2 separate regions of the Homo sapiens genome follow, and region 1 is linked to region 2. The links are contacts of gene promoters, found by promoter capture Hi-C in human tissues and cell types (Jung and others, 2019). All regions are on one chromosome and are shown on one strand. The core of a region is centred on a gene start or on the middle of the fragment in contact, and the rest is flanking DNA. Distances in the headings are between cores, read along the strand shown.

Region 1 (7,219 bases), core at 73-2,572, 330 kb before region 2:
CATCTATTCATCAATATTTACAAAGTGTCACTTATACACACTGAGGATATAGAATAAATGGTCCCTTCTGATCTAACTAGGAAGAAAGAAAGTATACACTTATAATGCAATTTGATAAAGATAAACTCAGGTTGATATTAAAACAGGTGGGCCAGGTAAGAATATCTGATAAAATCAGGTATAGCGCTCTATACAGAAAAACACAGATCAGAACAACACAAGGAAACAAAAAGCACTTGGGTTTTTATCTTTCCAGTCTTTCTCCCCATTATCACTAACAATGGGCATTGAATTACCCTAAAAATCTTTGCCAATTTTATTGGCAAAAATGAAACCCCATTTATATTTCTCCAGGAAATATAAATTAAATTTGAACATTTCACTATAAAAAAATCTTTTATTTTCTTTGACCTCTTTCTAATATAGTGTTGGCACACCTCTTATTATATGTTCTTCATTTAGGGTATGATTTTTATCTATAATGCTTTTTGCTAATGTATTTCCAGCTTGTTTGCCTTCTAACTTTGCATATAACATTTTTTGATATGCAATGATTTTTGAATTATTAGGTAGTCAAATATTTTTCTTGGAGTTTTTTTCCACTGCTTTATTTCTTAGAAGTTACTTTTTCTTTCAGAAATCAGCTAATTGTCAAGGCCAGGCAAAGTGACTAATGCCTGTAATTCCAGCACTTTGGGAGGCCAAGGAGGATGGATCATTTGAGGCCAGGAGTTCAAGACCAACCTAGCCAACATGGCAAAAACCTGTCTCTACTAAAAATACAAAAATTAGCCAAGCATGGTGGCACATGCCTGTAATCCCAGCTACTCGGGAGGCCGAGGCAAGAGAATCGCTTCAATCCAGGAGGCAGAGGTTGCAGTGAGCCGAGCTGGCACCACTCCACTCCAGTCTGGGCAACAGTGAGACCCCGTGTCAAAAAAACAACAAAAAAAGAAAAAGTCAGCTAATTGTTATGTGTCATTTCTTTCTAGATTTTGTAGTTTTTGTTTGTTTGTTTTACATTTAATGATTTAGAAGATTTGGGGCTTATTGTGGTTTCTTAAATATTATAACTCTATTTCAAAACTATTCTGCTATGTTGAGCTATCTTATTTCATACTGTATTTTAATATGTTAGGACAGTTCTCTCCTTACGACTTTCTTTTGCAAAAATTTTCTAGCTACACTCATTTGGATATTCTTCATGATGAACTCTGAGATAATTTTAACACATTCCAAAAGACATATTTTTGAGACTTATTAGAATTTTGTTAAAGATACTGATTTATTTCCAAAGAATTACAGAATCTAATCTTTTCATCTATGTATCTCTATTGAAGCATTTGTTTATGTCTCTTAGAATAGATACATTCTTTAAAATAAAATATAAGCTTTGTGCATTTTTGTGAGGGTCGTTTCTGCATGCTTTATTTTCATTTTATTCAAATGGAATAGTTCCCCATTAGCTTTCATATCTCATTGTTATTATGTAGGAATGCTATTGATTTATTTTTATTAAACCTAATTGTCTTTTAAAATATATTAATTTTAATATTTTTCAGTTGATTCTTTTTTATTACATTTTACTTATTTATTTATTTTCTTTTATTTTAAAATTTTCTTTTTTGAGATGGGGTCTCATGCTGTCACCCAGGCTGGAGTGCAGTGGCACTATCCTGGCTCACTGCAACCTACACCTCCCGGGTTTAAGCGATTCTTATGCCTCAGCCTCCCGAGTAGCTGGAATTACAGATGCCCGCCACCATGCCCGGCTAATTTTTGTATTTTTAGTAGAGACGGGGTTTCACCATGTTGATCAGGCTGGTCTTGAACTCCTGACCTCAAGCAATCCACCCACCTCGGCCTCCCTCCCAAAGTGGTGGGATTACAGGCATGAGCCATCACACCCAGCCCTTTTTTATTACATTTTAAAATAGCATTAATAGAAACAAGGTTTCACTATGTTGCCCAGGCTGGTTTCAAACTCCTAAGCTCAAGCGATCTTCCCACCTCGGTCTCCCAAAGTGTTAGGATTACAGGCATGAGCCCGGTCCAGTTTATTCTTTTGGATATTCTAGAAGTAGAATATAGAATTCTCTACATTTAACAATTGTGACTATTCCTTCATGACCATTTAAATTCTTCCTTTCCAATATTAATGCCAGAGTGTCTTACTGCACTATTTAGGTTCTCAACTGCAACACTGAATAAGAGTCGTGATAGCACGTAACTTTGCTGTGCCTCTGACTTCAACGATAATACTTCTGTAGGTTTTTTAGAGATGTATCTTCTTAAGTTTAGGAAATTCCCTTCTATTTTAATCAGTCATGAGTGGGTATTGAATATTATGCAATGTTTTTTCCCAGCATTTTCTGTCAACATAGATGAGAAGTAAATTGGCCAATTTCCACTTATTTGTGATTGTGGCTTTTGGTTGTGGTTGTTTTATATCAAAATAATAGATGACATTTGGTTTCTTCCTTAATTCCACTATGATGATAGGGCATACTCTATAGAATTTCAGTCCTTTAAAATTGTTGAAAAGTGCTTTACGACCCACTACATAATCAATAAATATTCTTTTTGCAGCAAAATAATATATATTCTGTAGTGTTGTATGTGTATCATGTCAATTTTGTTCATTGTGTTGTTCAATGCTTCTATGTCCTTTCTATTTTTTTCCCTGCTTGTTCTATCAGTTACAGAGAGGAATGTGTTAAAAATCTCAGGTTGTGATGGTAGATTTGTGTATTTCTCCTTTTAGTTCTGTCATTTTGCTTCGTATATTTCAATACTATCTTTTAAAGATAGCATTGAATTGATTCTTTTTTCACTAATGCATTTTATCTCTTATAATACTTCTTGCCTTAACATCTACTTTGTCTAATATTTTTATAGGTACAACCAATTTTCTATTAGGCACAATAGGCATACATAACCCAGAGATATTGCAGATTCAGTTCCAGACTACTGCAGTAATAATATCATAATAAAGCAAGTCACACAAATTTTTTGGTTTCCCAGTGCATATATAAGTTATGTCTACACTATTCTATGGTCTATTAAGTGAGCAATAGCATTATGTCTAGAAAAACAATGTACATACATTGTACATTTTAAATGAATGTATATGCGAAACAACATACATTAATTTTAAAATACTATATTGCTAAAAAGTGCTATTGATCATCTCAGCCTTCAGTAAGTTGTAATTTTTTTGCTGGTGAGGGGTCTTGCCTCCATGCTGATGGCAACTGACTGATCAAGGTGGTGGTAGCTGAAGGTTAGGGTGGCTGTAGCAATTTCTTAATATAAGACAAAGATGATGTTTGCCACATTGATTGACCCTTTCTTTCACAAAAGATTCCTCTGTAGCATGCAATGCTGTTTGATAGCATTTTACCCACACAGTAGTGATGCAGGATTTTTTTGCTCCTTATCTAGGCTCCTTAGCCAGGCTCCTCCCCTGCATAAGACACGAATTCCTGGTGGCTCCACCCCATTCCCCCAGTGCTTGTGGGCCTCCAGTTCACTGCGGGCATGCTCAGGCAAGTCCCCTGTGCAGGTTCCCTTATCTGCACAAAACATCTGATGTAAACACTTGTGGGGCGAGTTGGAGATTCTCCGGGGACCCTTCCCTATCTGCCTAGGCCTTTGTCTGCCTCTTGCCTCTATCAGTAGGACTTCCTTCAAAATTGGAATCAAAATTGCCACCATTTTATCAACTAAGTTTATGTAATATTCTAAATCGTTTGTTGTCATTTCAACAGTGTTTACGGCATCTTCAACAGGAGTAGATTCCATCTCAGGAAACCACTTTCTTTGCTCATCTATAACAAGCATCTTCCACTGATGTCTTGAGCCCCTCAAAGTCATCCATGAGGATTGGAATCAACTTCCTCAAATTCCTGTTAATGTTGATATTTTTAACTCCTCCCATGAACCATGAATTCTCTTAATGACATCTAAAATGGTCAGAAGATTTTCAATTGACTTTGCCCAGATCCATCAGAAGATTCACTATCTATGGCAGCTACAGCCTTACAAAATATATTTCTGAAGTAACAAGACTTGGAAGTCAAAATTACTCCTTGTTCCATGGACAGCAGAATGGATGTTGTGTTAGCAGGCATGAAAACAATATTCATCTCCTTGCACATTTCCATCAGAGCTCTTGGGTTGTTGGTACATTGTCAATGAGCAGTAATATTTTGAAAGGAATCTATTTTTTTTTTCTGAGCACTAGGTCTCCAGACTGGGCTTAAAATGTTCAGTAGACTATGTTGTAAATACATGTGCTGTCATCCAGCCTTTGTTTTTCGATTTCTAGAGCATAGGCAGAGTAGATTTGGCATAATTCTTAAAGGCCCTAGAATTTTTAGAGTGGTCAAAGAGCATCGGCTTCACCTTAGAGTCATGAGCTGCATTAGCCCCTAACAAGGGAGTCAGCCTGTCCTTTGAAGCTTTGAAGCCAAGCCTGGACTTTTACTCTCTAACTCTGAGTCTTAGATGACATCTTCTTCCAATAGAAAGTCATTTAATCTACACTGAAAACCTGTTGTTTCATATAGCTCTCTTCATCAATTACTTGAGCTAGATCTTCTAAATAAATTCCTGCAGCTTCTACATCAGCACTTACTACTTCACCTTGAACTTTTATGTTATGCAGATAGTCTCTTTCCTTAAATCTCATGAATCAACCTCTGCTAACTTCAAACTTTTCTTTGGCAGCTGCCTAACCTCTCTCAGCCTTCAGAGAATTGAAGAGAGGTAAAGCCTTGCTCTGGATTAGGCTTTGGCTTAAGGGAATCTTGTGGCTGGTTTGATCTTCTATCCAGACCACTCAAACTTTCTCCATATCAGCAAGAAGGCTGTTTCACTATTTTTATCATTCCTATGTTCACTGGGGTAGTATTTTTAATATGTTCACTGGGGTAGTATTTTTAATTCCCTTCCAGAACTTTTCCTTTGTATTCACAATTTGGCTAACTGGCTCAAGAGGCCTAGCTTTCAGCCCATCTTGGCTTTCTACATGCCTTCCTCACTAAGCTTAACCATTTTGAGCTTTTATTTCAAGTAAAAGACATGGGAATCTTCCTTTCACTTGAACACTTAGAGGCTGTTTTAGGGTTTTTAATTGGTCTATTTCAATATTGTTGTGTTTCAGAGAATAGGGAGGCCTGAGGAGAGGAAGAGAAATGGGGGGCTGATTGGTGGAGCAGTTAGATCACACACATTTATCAATTAACTTTGCATGAGTGCAATTCATGGTACCCAAAAGCAATTACAATAATAACATCAAAGATCAAAGATCACGGTCCACCATAACAGATATAATAGTAATAATAAAGTTTGAAACATAGTGAGAATTACCAAAATGTGACAGAAAGAAATGAAGACAGCACATACTGTTGGAAAAATGGCACTGGTAGACTTGCTTGATGCAAGGTTGCCACAAACCTTCAGTTCGTAAAAAATGTAATATCTGCAAAGTGCAATAAAGCAAATTGCAATAAAATGAGATATGCCTGTATTTACATGGCATAATTCTTTCCATCCTTTCAATCTTTCTGTAGCCTTTTATTTGAGGTGTCTCTTACAAGCAACATATAATTGATATTATTTTTAATTCTGTCCATAGCATTTGCCTTTTAACTGGAGTATAGATTCCATTTATATTTAATGTACTTGCCAAAAAACCCTCCTGTTTTAAAAAATTTACCTTTTTTTTTTTTTTTGAGACAGAGTTTCACTCTGCTGCCCAGGCTGGAGTGCAGTGGTACAATCTCGGCTCACTGCAGCCTCCGCCTCCTGGGTTCAAGTGATTCTCCTGCCTCAGCCTCCCGAGTAGCTGGGACTACAGGTGCCCACCACCACGCCTAGCTCGTTTTTTGTGTTTTATTTTAATAGAGATGGGGGTTTCACTATGTTGACCAGGCTGGTCTCGAACTCCTGACCTCAGGTGATCTACCCTCCTTGGCTTCCCAAAGTGATCATCTATTTGTTTCTACTTGTCTGTGTTCCTTTTTTCCCTTTCTTGCTTCTTTTATTTTTTATTTTTTCATTTCCCCTCTTTTTTACATGTTATTCATTCTTTTTCTATTACTTTTGCTGTTATTCTAGAGATTATAATATTCATTATTGATGTATTAAAGCCAAGTACTTTTATCAATTCCTATACAATCCTAGGACTTTAGAACACTTTACTTTCATTTACTCTATCTCACTTTTTGTGCTGCTATTGTGTATATTTTAATTCTACATATATTTAAACTTCACATGACGTTATTTTTATTGTTTTATATAAATTGTGTTTATTTATATCTATCCATATATATATATGTATTTATATCTATCCATATATAAAAGGATTGATTGCTCTTCATTCCTTTAGATGTCTCCATGATTTCATTTGGGATTATATTCCATCTGCCTGAAAAACTCCTTTTGGAATTTCCTTTAATGTAAATCAGCTGATGATCTTAGTGTTTCTTGGTTATAAAACTGGCTGTATTTTATTTTCAATTTTGAAGATCATTTTTACTGGGTATATAATATAGGTTGATAGGTAATTTCTCCTAGCGCTTTGAAAACATTTGAAGGTGTTTAGGCTTCCATTGGTTCTTTGAGAATAAGCTTTTAATTTTATTGTTGCTCATTTGCAGATTATATCTCTGTTTTCTTTGCTGATTTTAAACCTTTTCTTTTTGATTTTGTTTCTCAGTAGTTTACAATGTGCCTAGACATGGTTTTCTTTGCTTGAAATCCTGCTCTATGTTCATAATGTTTCTTGACTCTGAGAATTGTTGTTCATTAGTTTTAAAAAATTTCCAGCCGTTATCTTTTCAAATACTGCTTCTTTTCCTTTTTTCTCTCACCTCTCTTCCTGATATTCCAATTACGTGTGTGTTAGAATGTTTTACCACATATCACATGTGTCATAGTCTCCTTTCTGAGACCTTATCTCTTTTATAGAAAGTTCTTTCATATCTCTTGTATGTCATTTTTCATATTTTGTTTTGCTTATTAGCTTCACTAATTCTTGCTTAAGTTGTATCTCATCTGTTATTAAGCCCATAATTCTGTAGTAGTTTTAGTTAGTGTGTTTTTTTCTCCAATTCCAAAATTCCATTGTATTCTTCTTTGGAGTTTCCAGTTCTCTGCTGAAAACTCTTTATCTTGCAATTTAATTTCTTGAAGATATTTAACAGAATTATTT
Region 2 (7,255 bases), core at 1,960-4,459:
ATGCTAGTTGTTTCTGTAAAGCTGTCACTCTGATAAGAATAAGTGACTATTTAAAATCTTTTTAAGATTTTAAGATCGGTGGTCTATGTAAAGCCAATTATACTTGATCTTTATTTATTGTTTTTCAAATTATCCATCAGTAACAATCTGAAAAATATAGACTTCACACAGCTAACCCAGGTTAAAGAAACTTGAGGAGCTGTATCTAGTGTAGTTGGAAATGAAAATCTGGAAATTTAGGATGAATAGTTGTAACATTGTTAAGGATAAGAGCCCCTTTGAAAATCTGTTGAAAGCTACAGACCTTGTGCCCAGGAAAATTACACACTACTCCCAATGCTGCATACAATTTCAGAGAACAAAGGGACCCCCAGAAGCCCATCCATGAATCATGGAGCCTAAGTTAAGAACCTCTGATTCAGACAACAGTTAAAGCCACTAAAACAGATGTGACCATGCAGAGAACATGTGTTGGGACTAGCGGAGATGGATTATAGAGCCCAAGGAAACCCCAACAGTGAAAGAGCAGGCAGAGGAGCTGGCAGACAAGGAAGATCTGGGCAGTTGTGAGACAGCCAAGCAAGGGGCAAAGACAAGAGATGAGCTGTTGAGTGAGGCCTGTTCGAAAGAGGGGAGATGGCAGCATGAGCTGCTCCCTGTCTTCTGCCCTCTCTGCCGTCTCTATACTGCTGTCACATTGATTCTCTGAGAGCTCCACCAATGCAAATAGTTTCATTTACCTTCAGCGAGTGGTGGGCAGTGAGTCCACAAACGGGACCAGGTCCCATCATCTGGTCCCAGTCTCATCCTCTGAACTTGTCTCCACTTAGCTCCAAACACACTGGGCCATGGGGCATTTCTCAAACACATCTTTTCCTTTGATGCCTTCATATCCTTTGATTGCCATTTCCTTTATTTAGCACAATGCCTGGCATATTCATAAGGTCCTCAAAAATGGTCAGCGTTTCTTCTTTCCTTCCCAACTCATGGAGATTGTCACTTAATAAAAACATCAATTTGGAGACTCCTCTATGACTAGCCCAGTCCAGATCACCAGTCCCTTCCCATCCCTGCCCTTTATCTGTGGACTTGCTCCCTAAGATACCTAGTGCAGTAGCTTAAATGTTTGCTAGCTGGCTGACTGAGATAGCCCTGAGGGTCTCAGAAAGCACTGTCTTCCTAGCTAGACTCTGATCTACCAGGGAAGCCTGTAGAAGTGGACACTTAGGAGCTATGTCTGCCAGTGTACATAATATGTGCATAGCTTACCCCACAAAATGAAATAAAGCAACAGTCATGAGTCACTTAACAACAGGGATACATTCTGAGAAATGTGTCATTTGGCAATTTGGTCCTTGTGTGAGCATCATAGGGCAAACTTACACAAACCTACATCGTAAGGTGTACTATGCACCTAGGCAATATGGTACAGCCTGTTGCTCTTAGGCTACAAACCTGTACAGCATGTTACAGTATGAATACTGTAGGCAACTAACACAATGATAAGTATTTGTGCATGGGACCACTGTCATATAACGTGGTCCTCCGCTGTCATTTTGTGGTGCATGACTTGTATACTAAAGGTTTTGAGACCTCAGCTTTTGCAATGGATATCCCGCAGAAAATTATAGATTACAAACTGCAGACTCATGGGGGTCACACAAATAATCACAACCGCAAATACCAAATGTCACCAACTACAGGGACACAGTTTAAGCCCTACTGGCTCACAGAAACACCAGTGAAGCATTAAGTCCACCTCTGACCCATGTCTACAAAGTAGTGTACTTGGGCACCAAATGCACCACTATTTTTTTTTTTTTTAAAGCTTCGTTCAGGGCAGCCCCACACAGGTTCAGCCACCCTCAACATTGCCTCCAGGAGGCTCTGCCCACCCTTTCCTGACAAGGGGGAAAGGAATGCTGCAGGACCTTGAACCCCTAGGTCAATCAGCCTGGCCTTCCCAGGGATGGTTCCCTGCTTACTCTATTCATGAGCTCAAAGTGCTGGGTAGTCAGCTGGCAATGAAAAGGCCTGGTCCCGGAAATGACCACTGCCCCAAAGCCTAGAAAGACAGCAGGCGGGGTTCAAATTCAGCTTGCTTCATTCAGGCCCACTGTACTGAGCCAAATCACCCCAGGGCATGGCTCAGGCCTCATCTGGAGGAGGCACGAAATCCATGATCCCGGCCCCTTAGCACCGTCCCCTCCCCACCCCTACCACTGAACACACACCTGTAAAGCTCTTTGGGAACTGTTCTGAATGGCTATCACAGCCACTAGATCCAAGACCCTCTGAATGATGGGTAACAGTCAAAGAAGAATTTTAACAACTAAAGCGATGACCTTGAGCCTAATTTCTTTCTTTGTAAAATGAAAGTGTTGGACTGTCATTCCCAAATTTCAGTACTAGTAAAATTATCAAAACAAAAAACAAAAAAATAATGAATTACTGAGGTTTTAGTTTGCCAAGTGAGAATTTTTTCTCAAAAATTACAAACTATATGTGTCGCCATCATTTCCTAAAAGGAATAACATTTAAATCAAAAAAGTTGAAAAGAGGTAATATCAAAATAAGCGCAGCCACCCCAAGGCAGGCCGGTAGGCAATGGCCCCGACCAAGGAGATCCCGGAGCGGCTCTCCGGCTGTCAGCAAAGGGTCTGCATCTGCCCGGATCCTGACATTCTGGGTACGTCTCAACGACGCGGCAAACAAGCGTCCACTCCCAACGCGAGCAAGTTTAAAACCCAGGAACATCGATACCAGGCGCCGGAGCGAAGCATTTCCAGGCCTCCGCGGGTTGCCCCGGGCCGCGGCGAGGACCCGCACCCCGGTTCCCCAGCCGCTCGCCGGGCCCTCGCTCCCGCCGCGCCCCGGGCACCTCCGGGCCTCGCGCCCTCCCCGGATCCCCTAGGCCCGCGTACCCGGACCCCCGCATCCCGGGGGACCGCTGTCCTCCGCCGGCGCCCCCGCCCGCCCCCCACGCCCGCGCGGCCGGTCCGCCCAAGGTCGGCGCGAGCGGGCCGTGGGCCTGGTGGGCCTGGCGGGCGGGGGCGCCCCTGGCCGGGTCCGGGCCGCATCCCAGACCAGAGCCCGCAGGCCAGAGCCGCTCCGGGTCCCGCTCCCGTTCCTGCCGGCAGCCGCGGGGGCGCAGGGCCTGCGAGGCGGCACTCACCCGGGCGACGCCATGAGCGCAGCGAGGTCTCCGCTCCCGCCTCCTTCGCTTCCTCCGCGCGGCCGCGGCTCGGCGCCGGGGAGGGGCCTGGCCCGCCGGCCGCCCGCCCGCTCCGGGACGCGCTCCAGGGGTGGAGGTGGGGTGAGGTGGGGTAAGGTGGGCCCGGGGTCCTCTCGGAGCAGCCCGGGGACAGCTGGGGCGGGGTGGGGGCGGGGCGGCCCAGGTCAGCCCGCAGCCCGCCCAACGCCCACCTGCCCAGGTGCCTGGAGGCCGGAACTCGCCGGGCGGTGCCTGCGGTGCCAAAAGCTGTAGGATAACCTGCCCCAGGGCCTTACTGAACTTCACACCTTTCTGTAATTGGAGTTTAATTTCTGTAAGAAAAGGCTTTTCTTTAGCCCTGAAGCGTAAGGCCTTATTATTAAGCAAAACAATAACTTTCCTACTTCTTACTTGCAGTGCTGTGTTGGACGAGTTGCTGGCCTCTCTGAGACGGTACCCATTGTAAAATGTGTATAAAGTGGCCTTGTGAAGCTCTAGGCAATGCGAAGCACTTTTATTATTCTTTATAGTGTGTTATTAAGAAAAATAATGAATCTGCAGTTCCTCCAGTGAGGTTTCACAACTATTCTTACAAGTTATGAGTCCTTAGGCAGGTAGATTTTTCAGCTTCAGTTCTTCTCTCTGCAAAATGAGTTTCCAAAAATGATCTAAGTGAAAATGCTTAATAAAAAGCTCTGGACAATGTAAACCATTGTTGATAACATTTTTAGTATTATATTAAATATCACTGGCCGAACGCAGTGGCTCACGTCTGTAATCCCACCACTTTGGGAGGCCGAGGCAGGAGGATCGATTGAGCCCAGGAGTTTGAGATCAGCCTGGGCAACATATTGAGATGACCCCCTGCCCGCCCCGCCCGTTTCATTTTTAAAAATAAAATTAAAGTTAAAAGTAAAATATCATTAACAACCACTATTTAAAAATGTTTACTACTATTAAGAATACAAGACAGCAAAGCAGTGATTAAAACCTTAGCTCTGAAGCCAGAATACCTGTGTTGGAATCTGGGCTCCACCAATTACCAGCCCCAGGAGCCCCTGCAAGATAGAACCTTTCCAGGGCCACAGTTCCTTATTTGAAAAATAAGGCTAAAAATAAGTCCCTTCCTCTCTGTGAAGATTAAATGAATTAATATTTGTAAACATTTGTAACTATTTTTAAATGTTAGTAAACATTGCGTGATGCATGGTCTCTTTTCCTCCTGGGAGAATCCAGTCAATGTTTCTGAGCCTCCTTGTCCTCTTCGGTAAAGAAATTCATAACTGCTACCTTGAGTTCAGAAGATAATTAATGCTCTGTAAATGGGAGCTGATAGGTAAAGCCACGCGAACTTGTGACACCCAAAATAAGGACAAATCCAGGAGGACCAGAGTTAGGAAGAGTTTGAGGAATGGGAAATCCTAAATCCTAAATGCCTGATTCAAGGGAGTAATGAAATGAAGGAGATCAAACTAAAAGAATTTTTTCTTTGTTTGTTTGAGACAGGGTCTTGCCCTGTCACCCAGGCCAGAGTGCAATGGCGAGATCTTGGCTCACTGCAACCTCCACTTCCCGGGTTCAAGCAATTCTGCCTCAGCCTCCCAGTAGCTGGGACTACAGGCGCCCACTACCACACCTGGCTAATTCTTCTATTTTTAGTAGAGACAGGGTTTCCCCATGTTGGTCAGGCTGGTCTCAAACTCCCAACCTCAGGTGATCTGCCTGCCTCAGCCTCCCAAAGTGCTGGGGTTACAGGCGTGAGCCACCATGCCTGGCCTAAATAAGCATTCTTTTAAACATAAGGAATACATGTTTACTGACATAAAATCTGGTTCAGAAACCAATAACCCCAAAATATGGCACTTTAACAAGCTGAACTGAAGAAGTCTCAAGGTCTCTCTGATCTCCCTCCCCACTGGTTTCTCCCAAAACAGAAAATGTCTTTATCTGCTTAAAGTCCAGACCCTCCAAGGAGAACAACTGTTTTTCTTGCCCTCCCTGTAAGACCAAGAATGTAACCACACCTGAAAAGACCCTTTCATAGGATAGCGTACAAGTTAATCTCTGTGCCCTGATCCATTCCTTCTCCCTAGTAATCCTTTATTGCCCCTTGAAAGAATTCCTCTTTCTCCCCTCCTGTAAGTTGTTTTGCCAAGATGGTCTACAAGCTTCTGAACCTTGTTGGGTGGTGGGAAATCATTCTGTAATTCTCCCTGTGCACACATTCATAAAATTTGTATGCCTTTTCTTCAATTAATCTGCTTTTTGTGAGTTGATTTTTCAGTAAATCTTCAGAGGGCAAGGAGAAACTTTCCCGTGGCCCGTACACTTAACATGAATTTTAGCATCCCACTATATGGTTAGACCATCATGTTTAACCAACCCCTACTGTTGGACATAAATATTGCTACCAGTATTTCATTATTATAAGGAATGTGAGTAATAAATATCCTTATAGCCAAAACATCCCATAAACATCAATGATTATTTCCTTATGCCAAATTTTGAAGAGTTGAATTTCTAGATCAATAGGATATCAGTATTTTAAGGCTCTTCTGAAACATATATACTCTGTGTATGTGTATGTGTATACCTACACACATACACAAACACACTAATATACATATACTTAAATACATAATACACATACACACATATGTATACATATACCTACACACATATATACAGACACACAAATATACACATACACAACATATACACACATATATACAGATTGCCTTCCCAGCACAATCACCTGATAGTCCTAGTTTTCCAAAACACTGTGTAACTTTTACAATTTTTCAAAATCATTGCCAACTTCATAGGTTAAAAACCAGTATTTTAGGCCAGGTACGGTGGCTCATGCCTGTAATCCCAGCACTTTGGGAGGCCGAGGCGGGTGGATCACTTGAGGTCAGAAGTTTGAGACAGCCTGGCCAACATGGTGAAACTCCATCTCTACTAAAAATACAAAAATTAGCTGGGTGTGGTGGCGTGTGCCTGTAGTCCCAGCTACTAAGGAGGCTGAGGCAGGAGAATTGCTTGAACCCAGGAGGTGGAGGCTGCAGTGACTGCAGCCACTGCACTCTAGCCTGGGTGACAGACTATCTCAAAAATAAAAATAAAAAATAATTTAAAAAATAATAATAATAAATAAAATTGGCCAGTGCTGTGCCTCACGCCTGTAATCCCAGCACTTTGGGAGGCTGAGATGGGTGGATCACTTGAGGCCAGGAGTTCAAGACCAGCCTGGCCAACATGGAGAAACCCTGTTCTCTACTAAAAATACAAAATTAGCCGGGCGTGGTGGCACATGCCTGTAATCCCAACTACTCGGGAAGCTGAGGCAGGAGAATTGCTTGAACCCGGGAGGCAGAGGTTGTGGTGAGCCAAGATCGTGCCATTGCACTCCAGCCTGGGCAACAAGAGCCAAACTCTATCTCAAAAAAAATAAAAGACACCCTGTTACAAGAGACATATAAGAAAATTGTAGGCTGGGCATTGTGGCTCACACCTATAATCTCAGCACTTTGGGAGGCCAAGGCAGAAAGATCACTTGAGGCCAGGAGTTCAAGACCAGCCTGGGCAACATGGTGAGAACTGATCTATTTATTTGTTTATTCATTTATTTATGAGACACGGTCTCACTCTGTTGCCCAGGCTGAAGTGCAGTGATGCAGTCATGGCCCACTGCAGCCTCAACTTCCCAGCTCAAAGTGATTCTCCCATCTCAAACTCCTAAGTAGCTGGGACTACAGGCATGTGCCACCATGTCTGGCTAATTTTTTTTTTTTTTTTTTTTTTTTTTTTGTAGAGACAGGATTTCCCCATGTTGTCCAGGCTGGTCTCAAACTTCTGGGCTGAAGCAATAACCTGCCTCAGCCTCCCATAGTGCTGGTATTACAGATGTGAGCCACCATGCCTGGTCCCATCTTTTTATTAAAAATTTACACTAAAATTTTTTTTCAAAAAGTCCTGACATGGTGGCTCACACCTTTAATCCCAGCACTTTTAGAGGCTGAGGTGGGAGGATCACTTGAG

What was found. Contacts are between HindIII fragments. The study calls those that stand out against the background at their distance.
Region 1: a fragment that was not itself captured here is called in contact with the fragment with the promoter of URGCP-MRPS24 in region 2 in 1 of the 25 tissues and cell types used here (thymus).

The regions. Positions count from the first base shown.
Region 1 is chr7:43,574,109-43,581,327 of GRCh38, forward strand. No RefSeq gene overlaps it. Among named protein-coding and RNA genes, the nearest start is that of STK17A, 5.4 kb to the right of the region's middle. RefSeq lists enhancers at 3,021-4,220, 3,352-3,853. The HindIII fragment of the contact is 9,039 bases long and covers 1-5,842 here.
Region 2 is chr7:43,903,387-43,910,641 of GRCh38, forward strand. It overlaps URGCP-MRPS24 (URGCP-MRPS24 readthrough), which reads right to left and starts at 3,210. Exons shown (of 7, transcript NM_001204871.2): 1 at 3,176-3,210. The coding sequence starts at 3,189. It overlaps URGCP (upregulator of cell proliferation), which reads right to left and starts at 3,210. Exons shown (of 6, transcript NM_001077663.3): 1 at 3,176-3,210. The coding sequence starts at 3,189. RefSeq lists silencers at 2,986-3,415, 3,476-3,635. The HindIII fragment of the contact is 12,880 bases long and covers 1-7,255 here.